3 separate regions of the Homo sapiens genome follow, and all the other regions are linked to region 3. The links are contacts of gene promoters, found by promoter capture Hi-C in blood cells and fetal thymus (Javierre and others, 2016). All regions are on one chromosome and are shown on one strand. The core of a region is centred on a gene start or on the middle of the fragment in contact, and the rest is flanking DNA. Distances in the headings are between cores, read along the strand shown.

Evidence for each region. The method cuts DNA at HindIII sites, captures the fragments that hold promoters and counts their contacts. A CHiCAGO score of 5 or more calls a contact.
Region 1: a fragment that was not itself captured here is called in contact with the fragment with the promoter of SCD5 in region 3 in 1 of 17 cell types (M2 macrophages); the score reaches 5.0 in M2 macrophages.
Region 2: a contact is called between a fragment that was not itself captured here and the fragment with the promoter of SCD5 in region 3, in 4 of 17 cell types (M1 macrophages, M2 macrophages, megakaryocytes and 1 more). The highest score is 7.1, in M1 macrophages.

What each region holds. Positions count from the first base shown.
Region 1 is chr4:82,433,326-82,437,093 of GRCh38, forward strand. All of the region lies in intron 1 of ENOPH1 (enolase-phosphatase 1), which reads left to right. Among named protein-coding and RNA genes, the nearest start is that of ENOPH1, 4.6 kb to the left of the region's middle. The HindIII fragment of the contact is 7,870 bases long and covers 1-3,768 here.
Region 2 is chr4:82,488,269-82,491,962 of GRCh38, forward strand. TMEM150C (transmembrane protein 150C) reads right to left here. Exons shown (of 8, transcript NM_001080506.3): 7 at 1,793-1,970. It also overlaps the pseudogene RPL7AP26. Among named protein-coding and RNA genes, the nearest start is that of ENOPH1, 60 kb to the left of the region's middle. The HindIII fragment of the contact is 430 bases long and covers 1,340-1,769 here.
Region 3 is chr4:82,796,208-82,800,257 of GRCh38, forward strand. SCD5 (stearoyl-CoA desaturase 5) reads right to left here and starts at 2,589. Exons shown (of 5, transcript NM_001037582.3): 1 at 2,099-2,589. The coding sequence starts at 2,330. RefSeq lists enhancers at 815-1,336, 2,313-3,030, 3,031-3,747 and silencers at 2,145-2,194, 2,525-2,944. The HindIII fragment of the contact is 16,836 bases long and covers 1-4,050 here.

The sequences.
Region 1 (3,768 bases), core at 908-3,407, 360 kb before region 3:
CAGACTTATTCTGAAATCCAAAAATAAAAATGTCTTAGTTGCCTAAATAAATTTTTCTGAATTTGACGCTAGGCAATGTGCAATTTCAATGCAGGCTGCAAAAGAATGATTTAGGGATCTTGTTTAAAGGATAATTTCTTGTGCCCTGTCCTATAATAATATCTATTGTTATTAATATTGTTAATCTATTATAATCTAATCTATTATTATAATTTGTTAGACATGAATTTATCAAAACCATTTTTCCTAAAAGTATGTTTAAAAGAAAGTTAGGTCTGTGTGGATGTTTATGGTAATTATGTAAAAAAGGATTCCATTAAATGCACTTTTGGGAAATGCTAGTTAGAATGAGTTCAAATAGATTTCTTTATTGCAAGACTTCTCAGAACCTTCGGTATCATACATATATATACACACATACACACTTTGTGAGATTTCAAGAGAGTGACATTTCACAAATCTACTTGAACAAAAAACTTTTAGTAGAGTATCTCAGTGACTAATCTTTTAAACACCTTTTAAAGAGATGCTGAGTTACATTCTTGAATCTGAGCACGGAAAGGTTGAGCATGGGAGTTGAAAGATAATCTGCTTGGAGCTTTAAAGTCAGAGTAGGTGTGTGAACTTGTAGCCCTTCCTTCTGTGGAATGATGGAAGGAAACATTGAGTACTGTATACGTGCAGTACTCAATCCTTGACTCATTCTAAAAGACCATGAGGTGTATGTACTGTCTACACTTTACTTAGGATGAAACAAAGCCTCTGAAAAGTTGAACAAGATGCCTGGGATTTGAACTCAGATTGTCTTATTCATAAAAACTCTTATTTTTTCCATTACTGCACTCAGCCTTGGAAATGGGATGCTACTGTTTGTCCTGTCTCCTTTGCTTGGTGGTTGTGTATGTTAAATGACACAGTTAGTATGAGAGTTCTTTAATCAATGTGAAGTACTGTGCTATAAAAGTATATGGTAACAAGCCAGGTACGGTGGCTCAGGCATGTAATCCCAGCACTTTGGGACGCCGAAGCAGGTGGATCTCTTGAGGTCAGGAGTTCGAGGCCAGCCTGGCCAACATGGTGAAAGCCAGTCTCTACTAAAAATACAAAAAGTAGGCCAGGCATGGTGGCTCATAATCCCAGCACTTTGGGAGGCCGAGACAGGTGGATCACCTGAGGTCAGGAGTTTGAGACCAGCCTGGTCAACATGGTGAAACCCCGTCTCTACTAAAAATACAAAAATTAGCCGGGCATGGTGGTGGGCACCTGTAATCCCAGCTACTCAGGAAGCTGAGGCAGAAGAATCACTTGAACCCAGGAGGTGGAGGTTGCAGTGAGCCGAGATTGTACCACTGCCTTCCAGCCTGGGCAACAGAGGAAGACGCTGTCTCAAAAAAAGAAAAGAAAAGAAAAAAAGGAATAAATAATTCAAAAATTAGCTGGGCATGGTGGCGCACACCTGTAATCCCAGCTACTGGGGAGGCTGAGGTGGGAGAATCGCTTGTACCTGGGAGGCGGAGGTTGCAGTGAGCCGAGATCGTGCCAGTGCACTCCAACCTGAGTGACAGAGCGAGACTGTCTTTAAAAAAAAAAAAAAGTATATGGTAACAAATTTCAGTTTATAGCATGTCTTTGTGTCTTGCCTGAGGATCATCAAAATTTGTTGGGAGTAGAGCTGCAGCAGAGCCCAGTTTTCCTTAGATGTTCCCACCGCATCTAAATCCACCGCCACCATCCCTGCACTTTACCGCAGGACACATACCTCTGGTGTTTGTTCTTTTTTGTCTTTGTTTTTCTGAAGCAGGGTCAGGCTGTGTCACCCAGGCTGGAGTACAGTGGCACGATCACAGCTCACCGCAACCTCGACCTCTCAGGCTTAAGCAATCCTCCTACCTCAGTCTCCTGAGTAGCTGGGACCACGAGTGTGCACCACCATGCCTAGCTAGCTTATTTTTATTTTTTATAAAGATGGGGTTTCACAGTGTTGCCCAGGCTGTTCTCAAACTCCTGGACTCAAACAGTCCTCCCATCACGGCTTCCCAGAGTGCTGGGATTATAGGCATGTGCCACCATGTCCAGCTAATTTTTAAAATTTTTTGCAGAGATGGGGTCTCACTGGGTTGTCCAGGCTGGTAAAGCATTTTTAGAAATAGTGAATTCATTCTTGATTATTTAACAGTCCTCTTTATGTCCTCTTATAATGTATTTTAGAAGATAATAATTGGGGAGTGTTGCAGTTAACATCTTTCTTATGAAAACTGCTATATTAAATTATGGTCTTTTTAGGAAGAGAGCTTTAAAGTCTGATAGTTATCTCCCAACTTTGGTTAAACATCCATTTGATAAGTAGTATTACTTCTATTATTGCCAGCATTGAGAAGTGTAGGATGCGCACTCTGCCTGCACAATGAAACAGCTAGAAGACAGCCTACAAGGAATGGCACACTGGAAGCATTCTTCTACCTGTGCTATTTATTATTGACACCAGTAACTGTAATAGGGTCTCTTTCCCTATCTTCATTCAGTCTACGGATTTAGGCTTTTTCATCCGCAGGGATGGGCTACTAGGATATGCTTTGTTTATAAAGGTGGTGATGAAGGTTAAATAAGATGGAATTCAAAAGCCTTTGAAAATTACGAAGTCCTATAGAAACACTGATTATAATGCAGGAAGTGTCAGACTGGAGGAAATAGAAAGTGCTTATGAAGGAAGGATTGATAAGGAAAAGAGGGATCTTACATTTCCTGAAACCCACCATGCTCCCAGTTACGTCTACCATGGTTACTCCCAGTGACTTCTGCTCCTTATTGCCCTACCCAGAAATATGTTAAAAATAAGACGCAGGATATTGTTGATCTCTAAGAATTTGTGGAAGCACTGGAATGGCAGATAAGTAGTTGTTGATGGGTTGATAAACAACTGCCCCCCTCTCCCCAAACTTTTCTACTGCTTAGGGCAGTGTTTCCCAGCTACATTCATGGTAGTACGTGAGAGGATTTTTGTTGACTCAGCTTGAAACAAGGTGAGGAGTCTTTGGAGAATCACTGTCTTGCGTATATCAAGAGGTGGATGGAGGCTAGCCTTAGCCTTGGTGGCTCACACTTGTAATCCTAGCACTTTGGAAGGCCAAGGTGAGAGGATTGCTTGAACCTAGGAGTTCAAGACCAGCCTGCGCAATGTAGCATGACCTCGTCTCTACTAAAAATAAAAAAAGTTAGCCAGGTGTAGTGGCATGTGCCTGTGATCCCAGCTACTCAGGAGGCTGAGGTAGAAGGATCATTTGAGCCCAGGAGGTCAAGGCTGCAGTAAGCCATGATCGTGCCACTGCAGTCCAGCCTGGATGACAAAGCAAGACCCTGTCTCAAAAAAAAAAAAAAAAAATGGTGGATAGAAAGCACCTCTGGCCTCTGGGAGGAAGCTGTCCCACCTAGCTGGGAGGGACCTCACCTAGGATTCAGGAGACCTGGGCTGCCTACCACATGAGCCTTAGACAATCTGCTCACCCAGCCACCTGTTAGTTCCCTAAAGCTGGGACTGTCATGTTCATCCTGCTCTCACACAGAATATGTCATCGTCGTCATCATCATCATCATCATCCTATCGTTGTTGGAACCCAAAGAATCTGCATTAAGTAAATAATTCAGTATGGGCATGGTGGCTCACCCCTGTAATCCGAACACTTTGGGAGGCAAAGGTTGGAGGATCACTTGAGGCTAGGAGTTTCAGACCAGCCTGGGCAACATAGCAAGACCCTGTCTTAAAAAAAAATT
Region 2 (3,694 bases), core at 305-2,804, 310 kb before region 3:
CATTCTAAAGCTACTTTCTCTAAGGTGGGGTCTGAAGTGGTTAAGAGTGAAGAGCTGAGCCTGAGTTTAAATCTCGATCCACCACGCATTATCTGTGTGATCTTGCGCAAATTAAACTTCTCCATGATTCACTGTTCTTACATGTGAAGTGAGGATAAAAAGAGTTGATACATTTAAAGTACTTAGAATAATGCCTAGCACGCTGTCTAAAAATTGGTGATTATTATGACTGAAGATGTGTAATTGCATTTTCTGTACAATCTACCCTTTAGGAACCTTGATTCCTTTCTCTGGTTTTCTGAGGAGGGCCTTACTGGAGTGAACACTTCTTTTATTTTTGCCTTTTATTTTATTTTATTTTTTGAGTCAGGGTCTCACTCTGTCACCCAGGCTGGATTGCAGTGGCATGATCACAACTCACTGCAGCCTCAAATTCCTGGGATCAAGTGATCCTCCCCGCAAGCCTCCCAAGTAGCTTGGACTACAGGTGCACACCACCACACCCTGCTAATTTTTCTAAAACAAATTTTTATAGAGACCAGGTTTTGCTATCTTGCCCAGGCTGGTCTTGAACTCCTGGGCTTAAGCAATCCTCCTGCCTCAGCCTCCCAAAGTGCTAGGATTACAGCATGAGCCACGGCACCAGGCCTTTATTATTTATTTATTTATTGTTAGAGACAGAGTCGATCTTAGCTCGCTGCAGCCTTAAACTCCTGGGCTCAAGCCAGCCCACCTCAGCCTCCCCAGTAGCTGGGATTACAGGTGCTCGCCACAACACCCAGCGGATTTTTAGATTTTTTTTTTTTTTTTTTTTGTAGAGACAGGGTCTCCCTTTGTTGTCCAGGTGGATCTTGAGCTCCTGACTTCAAGTGATCTTCCTGCCTCTGCCTCCCCAAGTGTTGAACACTTCTGATTACTCCACTCCATGGAATGAGTGACTGATCTGATTGGTGGGATGGGAACTGGCAGGCTTCTATTGGGCCACACTACCAGTAGGTGAGGCCACTGCACTCCATCCTAAGCTAGACTCTCTCTGGGATCTGTGTGGGGCTAAGCGGAGTGAGGTGCTCTCCTCTGCCTTTCCCTGGTTTCTCTGCTTGTTACTGGGTGGTTAAGTTGAATTCCAAGGTGTGAGAGAGGAGACCTGCAGCATTTTCCTTTCCAGGTTTACTAGGATAAAGGCTGATTTCTTCATCCCCACCTGGCTCCTAGCATCTATTCTCAATTGGTTCAAACTCTGAGCGGAGGAAGGGAAATGAATAGCACCCCAAAACCTCAAATATTGGAGGAAAACTACACATGCAGCCTTAATCTAGTGCTTGAATTTGTCTTCCAGAAAAGCTTCATTATTTTCCTGAAATATATAAATGTATTGGTCCTCTGAAATTCATTTCAGAGCTAATAAATGAAATGAAATAACAGGGCCATTAATAAAGTCACAAATGCATTTTTTTAAGCTGGAGGAAAAAAATGGCAATTCTCTTTTGGCTGTGCATTCTCTGATTTTCACAAATAAGAACTTTTACATCATTAGTGAAATGAGAATGTATGACACCATTCCTGCAGATTGAAACAATCTGGAGAGGGCAGACCTTGTTTTATTTTTATTTCTCCATCTCCCCTTTGGCATGAAAAATTGGTCTGAGGGTTTTTGTTTTTATACCTGTTTACCTTTGCCTTAAGATTCTGAGAAGATCTGGCAGAATATCCTAACCCACTGGGTTCTTCTACAGAGACAACTTACTTGTTTTCATCTTACTGGCAAAAGAAGCTTTTCACGTTCAAAGGATACAGAGGACCACACAGAGAGTGATAGATGCCGACAGAATAACCCGTGGAATTCCAACTCTCCGTCCTTCATTCTTGATGTTGACCTTGAGTGTCAGCGCAGCCTGGATCCAGCAGGTCAATGTGCCAAATCCAAAGGTCAAGGAAGTTCCGACGTTATGGATTTCTTCATCATTTGTGAGCTTAGGGATGAATGGATAATGACACATGAAGGCCCATTCAGCAAAGAAGACAGGCAAGTTGAAGGAATGAATATATGAGGGGAAAAGATAGGAAAAGAAATATCCCAATAATGGGATGATAGATTGCAGAAAGATTAGCTCTTCGTTCTATTCTCAAATGGTTTGAACTCTGAGGGGATGAAGGAAATAAATAATACCCCCAACCCTTAAAAACATTTGTGTAGAAAAAGTAAAAGAAAACAGAAGGAGAGTTACAGAAAAAGAAATGTTTCTACAAGCATACACCCCAAACTTTTCCAGGATAAGAAAATTAGACCAGGAATTTGGACATGGTTTTTTTTGTTTGTTTGTTTTTGTTTTGGTTTGTTTGTTTGTTTTGAGACAGGGTCTTTACTCTGTCTCCCAGGCTAAAATACAGTGGCGTGATCACGGCTCCCTGGCTCAAAGCGATCCTCCCACCTCAGCCTCTGGAGTAGCTGGGACCACAGGTACATGCCACCATGCCTGGCTAATTTGTTTGTTTTGAAGGAAAATTTGTATTACTTTAATTGTTTTTTAAGTACAGAAAACTCAACAGTGTATATTTAACCCAGCTTGGTGGCAAGTTCTTTAGCCTTTGCCTTTTTGAGCTTAGCAATGTGAGCCACAGACTTGGGACCCAGGACATTGCCTCCCCAGTGATGGCGGATCTCATCGGATCTGTTTTTGTAATTGGTCCTGATAGCTTCCACCCGCTTAGCCAAAGCTCCTTTGTCTTCCAAGTTAACCTGTGTGAAGACAACAGTGGTGCAGGTCTTCCTGTGGACTAGACGTCCCAGTCTTGCCTTCCTCTTGATAATGCAGCAAGAGACCCCCATTTTACGACACAGGGCAGGCAGGAAGACAGCTAGCTCGATGGGATCCACATCGTGTGCAATCACCACCAGCTGAGCCTTTTTGTTTTCCACCAAGGTGGTGACAGTGTTAACTCCTACTCGAAGGGCAGGTGGTCTCTTAGTGGGGACGTCCTCTTTGCAGGCAGCTTTCTTCTCAGCCTGGGCCAACAGCTTCTGCTTCTTCTCTTGCTTTGTCTCTGGTCTGTACCTGTGGGCTAGCTTAAGCAGCTGAGTAGCTGCTTGGCATCCAGGGCCTGGGTGAACTGGTTAATTGCAGAAAGCACTTACAGAGGTTAATTGCAGCCGCTTATAGAGGATGGCTGTCTGCCACTGCAACCTGATATAGCGGGGCAATTTCACAAAGCGAGTGAGGTCACTTTTGGGCTGGATGTCCTGTCCAATGCCAAAATTCTTAGGCCTTTTCTCAAACCAGGGATTCACCACTTTCTTGGCCTCCTGCTTCTTCATGACAGCAGGGGCCGGAGCCACCTTCTTTACTTTGGCCTTCTTTCCTTTCAGCACCTTTGGCAGCAGGAGGAGAGCGCTAATTTTTTATTTTTTTTATTTTTATAGAGATGGTGTCTCCCTATGTTGCCCAGACTGGTCATGAACTTCTGAGCTCAAGTAATCCTCCCGCCTCGGCCTCCCAAAGTGCTGAGATTACAGGCGTGAGCCATCAATCCTGGCCAATATATATTTACTGATGGAGGACAGCCAATTCTAGGCAAGTCAATATTTAATTGGCACAGACAACTAAAACCCTTTAAGCTCTGTTCTTCACGCTTGCAAAACTGGCCCGTCTATGTAATGTGACTAATTCTTGTTTTTTTTTTTGGTTTTTTTTTTTGA
Region 3 (4,050 bases), core at 1,339-3,838:
TGCGGTGAGCCGAGATCGCACCACTGCACTCCAGCCTGGGCGACAGAGCGAGACTCTGTCTCAAAAAAAAAAAAAAGACTTAGGAAATAGCAGATGAAGCACAGGCAGAATTTATCCAGGAAGGTATGGAATGGGGTTTGGGACATGAGTCACAAAGGGGAAACCAGATTCCTTCAGTGTGTTAACTTCTCTAAGGAAGCTAGAGGACACTGGGGCCTGGGAGGTGTCCTCTAAGCCAAGATCTTTCAGAACAAAGGTTCTATCTTCACCACAGAGAGCGGTCCGGAAAGGGCAGAGGTGACCTGGCAAACTTGGAGAGAGGGGCCTTGTCCTTGTGGCTCCTGGTCCAGTGCCAGGGTCTTGGGGCTCAGAGGCTGTAAGAAGTGGAGCCAGTGAGCCCTAGGCATGTAAGATAATATTTTAAGTGCTCACTTTTCCCTGAGCACTCTCTGAACACCACAGCTATTAAAGATAAGCCTCAATCCCCTAGAGGTCACCAGGCTCTGAGGACCAAGCCCAGCCCTGCCTCTGGAAGCAGGGGGGAGAGAGGAGCTTGTTGGAGAACTCTGGGCAATAAGGGCTTTGGTTGGCAGTGTCGGAGTGTGTTGATGAAGCAACAGCTGAACATCATACAGTCTACAGTCAGTTGGAGAATTAAACCAACACATAAAGGTGATGGTGAAAAGGACACAGAAATGAGGAGGTGCACTGAGAGAAGGAAAGATGAAGCAGGAGATTTCCCAGAGCTTTGGGGAGACTTTAAAGGCTTTAGGGATCCCCAAAGATCCTACCTCTCTCACCATCCGTCAACTCTGCTATGCCCTCCCTGAGCCACACCCCCTAAGAGGTACCCACTTCTGGATGGGTTTACTTCCAAGAGCAGGGACTGCAGGATTTCAAGGGAAGGCTTGGAACCATAGTGGCCCCATTATCTACCTAGGCATTTGCAGCTGGCACCATGCCAAAAAAGCCCTGTAGAAAGAGGTCTTATTTTCTTCCTTCCTCTTCCCCTCTGGAAATAAAAGTAGGTTGTGTTTCTCCTGCCCGCCCCTAGAGATCAGGGAAACGGGAGCTGGAAGGGCATCTTGGATTACCTCGTCAAATTCTCACTCAGCATATCAATGCCTGTGCCTTTTGTCCTGGCTACTGCCGCTTCAGTAAAGGAGGCCAAAACCAGTTATTGCGGCCAGGGCGGCTGCGAAGTGGTTCAAAGATCAACGACTGGGGTCGTGTAGGGTGGGCACGCAGTCCCTGGGGCCCAGGGGAAGGGGAATGGTGGTCGGCGCCCGGGCTCCCTTCCCTACTGGCAGGAGTGGGGGTGCACGGAAGGAGGGTACCAGGAGAGCCACAGGTTCCCACTGGCCACATGGGAACAGGGTTTGGAGAAGGCTCTGCACAGCCACAGTCGGAGCTTCGTGCTAGGGTCAGACCGCTCTCGCCATGGGATCGGTTTGCTCACCGAGAAACTTCACCGAGAACTGCAAATGGGCATAGAAGATTGCGGAGGGGGCAGGGACAGGGGCCTTGGAGAGGCAAGAGGGGAACCGGTATCTTCCATCTGGTGCGCGTAAACCAAGACTCTATCCTGTGCCGGGTCTCTCCTCCCCGGTCCAACTCCCTTACTTGTCCTCATCTCTGTCCCCAAGGTCCGTGACCCGCGGAGGTGATGGGGGGGATAGGAGAGCCCCAGGGACCGCAGAGGTGACACAATCGCCCGCCCGTCCTCCCTCGCTGGGAGCCGATTCAGCCTGTGCCGAGCCTCTCCCTTCGCGCGCCTCTGCGCACAGCGGTGGCACCGCAGGACTCCGGGTCCCCCCCGGCTCTCCATCGGGAAGCCGGCAAATGCGCTTCCTCAGGCAGACCGCGGCGGGGTGGGGGCGGGGGGGGGGCGGAAGTTGAAATACTGGGACAGAAACACCTGCCCGTCCCAAGGGACGGAAAACTGGATGCCAAGGGGGCCGCGGCGCGCAGCGGGAGGCGAGGGGAGACCGGGGGTCGCTGCGCACCGCCCGCAGCCGAGGGGCGAGCGGCGACCTCGCGCGCCCCAGCGCGGCCTGGCCACGGAGGCCGGGGCGCAGGGGGCGCCGGCGGGACTTACCCCAGAGCAGAGTGAGTGGCTTGGCTTTGGGGATGAGCACCAGGGAGTACACGGCCCCCAAGTGGAGCAAGCTCATCAGGACGACATTCCTCCAGACGATGTTCTGCCGCTGCCCGCGCGCGCCTGGCCTCTCCGGGCCGCCGCCGCCCTCAGAGCTTTCGAGCCCGGCACGGATTTCTTCCTTGGCGTCGCAGAAAGGGATCTTCCCCGCGTCGGTGGCCGGGCCTGGCATGGCTGGGCGAGGTGGGCGCCCGCAGCAGCGGCAGGCAGGCAGGCGCTCTGCCCGAGCGGAGCTCGAGGGTGGGGGCGGGGGCTTCTGCCTTTTAGGGGGGAATTCTCCGCACGTCCAGTCCCCTCCTTCCAGCCCTTCTCCCGGGCTCCTGCGCTCTTCCCCAGGGTCTTAGCGTGGCCTAGGGATGCAGATCTTGGCGGCCGGCGTCTGTTGCTGGCGTATCCCCCATATGGCTGCCCGGGCTGAACTCGGCCGCGAGAAAGAGGAGGCGCGCGCGGGGCGGGAGGGGCGCGCGGCCGGGGAGGAGGAGCTGTGAAAATGGAACGGGGCCGGCGACGCTGGAGGGAGCGCTCCGAAGGAGCGCGGAAGAAAGCCCTGCTTAGCTACAGCCAATCAGGAGCGCCCGTGCGGCGCTTATAGACAAAGGCGCCCCCCTTTCGGCTTTTCGGGGCCGAACTGGGGAGCCCGCTGGGCGGGAGTTGGCCGCCTCCGCCCGGGGGCGGGTGGAAGGTGGCTCCCGGGGCAGGGAGCCTGCAGGGCGGCTCACAGCGCTTCTGCTCTTGTGTGTGTGTGACCCCCAAAATGCCTTTTATGGTATTTTTCCAGTCCCCCCCCCAAAAAAAAACTTCCCGAAACTGTCATCCCTTTGAGAAGCCTTTTATTTCTTCTCAAGCCTCAGGCCACCTGGGTTGGAGAATTTTAAATACTTGCTTGGAGTCGCGACCCTAGTTAAGGCCAGACCCACGATGAGAATCAGAAGTCCCTCAATCTGCCAGTTAGTAGGGCTCCTCGGGCCAGGGGAGGGTTGGAAGGCAGCTGCTCGTTCTTAATTAGGCAGCTGTGGATTACCCAGGCACACAGTAAGTGCTCAGTTGGTGCTTGTGAGGTGATGCACAGATGATTTGGGCCAGTTCGCTGCCCACCCTTTGCCCATCCGCCGCGCCACTCTGTTTATGGTCAATTCTAGCTAATCAGCGCACTTCTGCAACGCCTCCTTAGCTCTCAGTGAGGAACACTACCCTGAAATCAACACCATTGAGAATCGGGCTTTACAAAAAAATCACCCAGAATGTTCCAAGGAAAATTAACCTGTGAAAGATTTGTGTCTGCCCACTTCTCTCCTAGAGCTGATGGCTTAAGAGCTCTCCAGAGAGGACCCTAGTTGCACAGAAAATGGAGGGAGGATTGAGCTGGAAGTGTCTGAAGCAGGTGTGACCGCAATTGCGGGCAGGCAGCAGAAGTAAAAGGGCTCGGGACAGCATCTCTGAGTTCTAGTTTTAACTGGCTGGAACCCAGCCCAACTCTCTGGGCACGGATTTCCTTACCTGAGAAGCAGAACTAGTTTCTACTCTTCCTTCCAGCTTCCATATTCCATGAATGTGAGTTCGAAGGGGCGCCATTATATTGACCAAAACCAGCTGATTTTTAGATTAACCGTTGTTAGGAATCATTTCCAGGATTTCAAGAGAGGCAAAAAAATTTAAAAGACTGACTGCATGAAAGGGCCATGCATAAGCATCTTATTGTTAGCAGACCTGAGCCAGTCCTAGCAGCCAGACAAAACAATGCCTGATTTAAGCTAAAGCAAGGTATGTGGCACTTGTGGAATCTAGGCCACTGAGTCAGTGTTACTGTGTTGCTTCAGACGGAGCTGAAATTATAGAATTTGCCTGGAGACCAGATAAATGTCGGCCCTATATAATGACCAGTCAGACAGTGG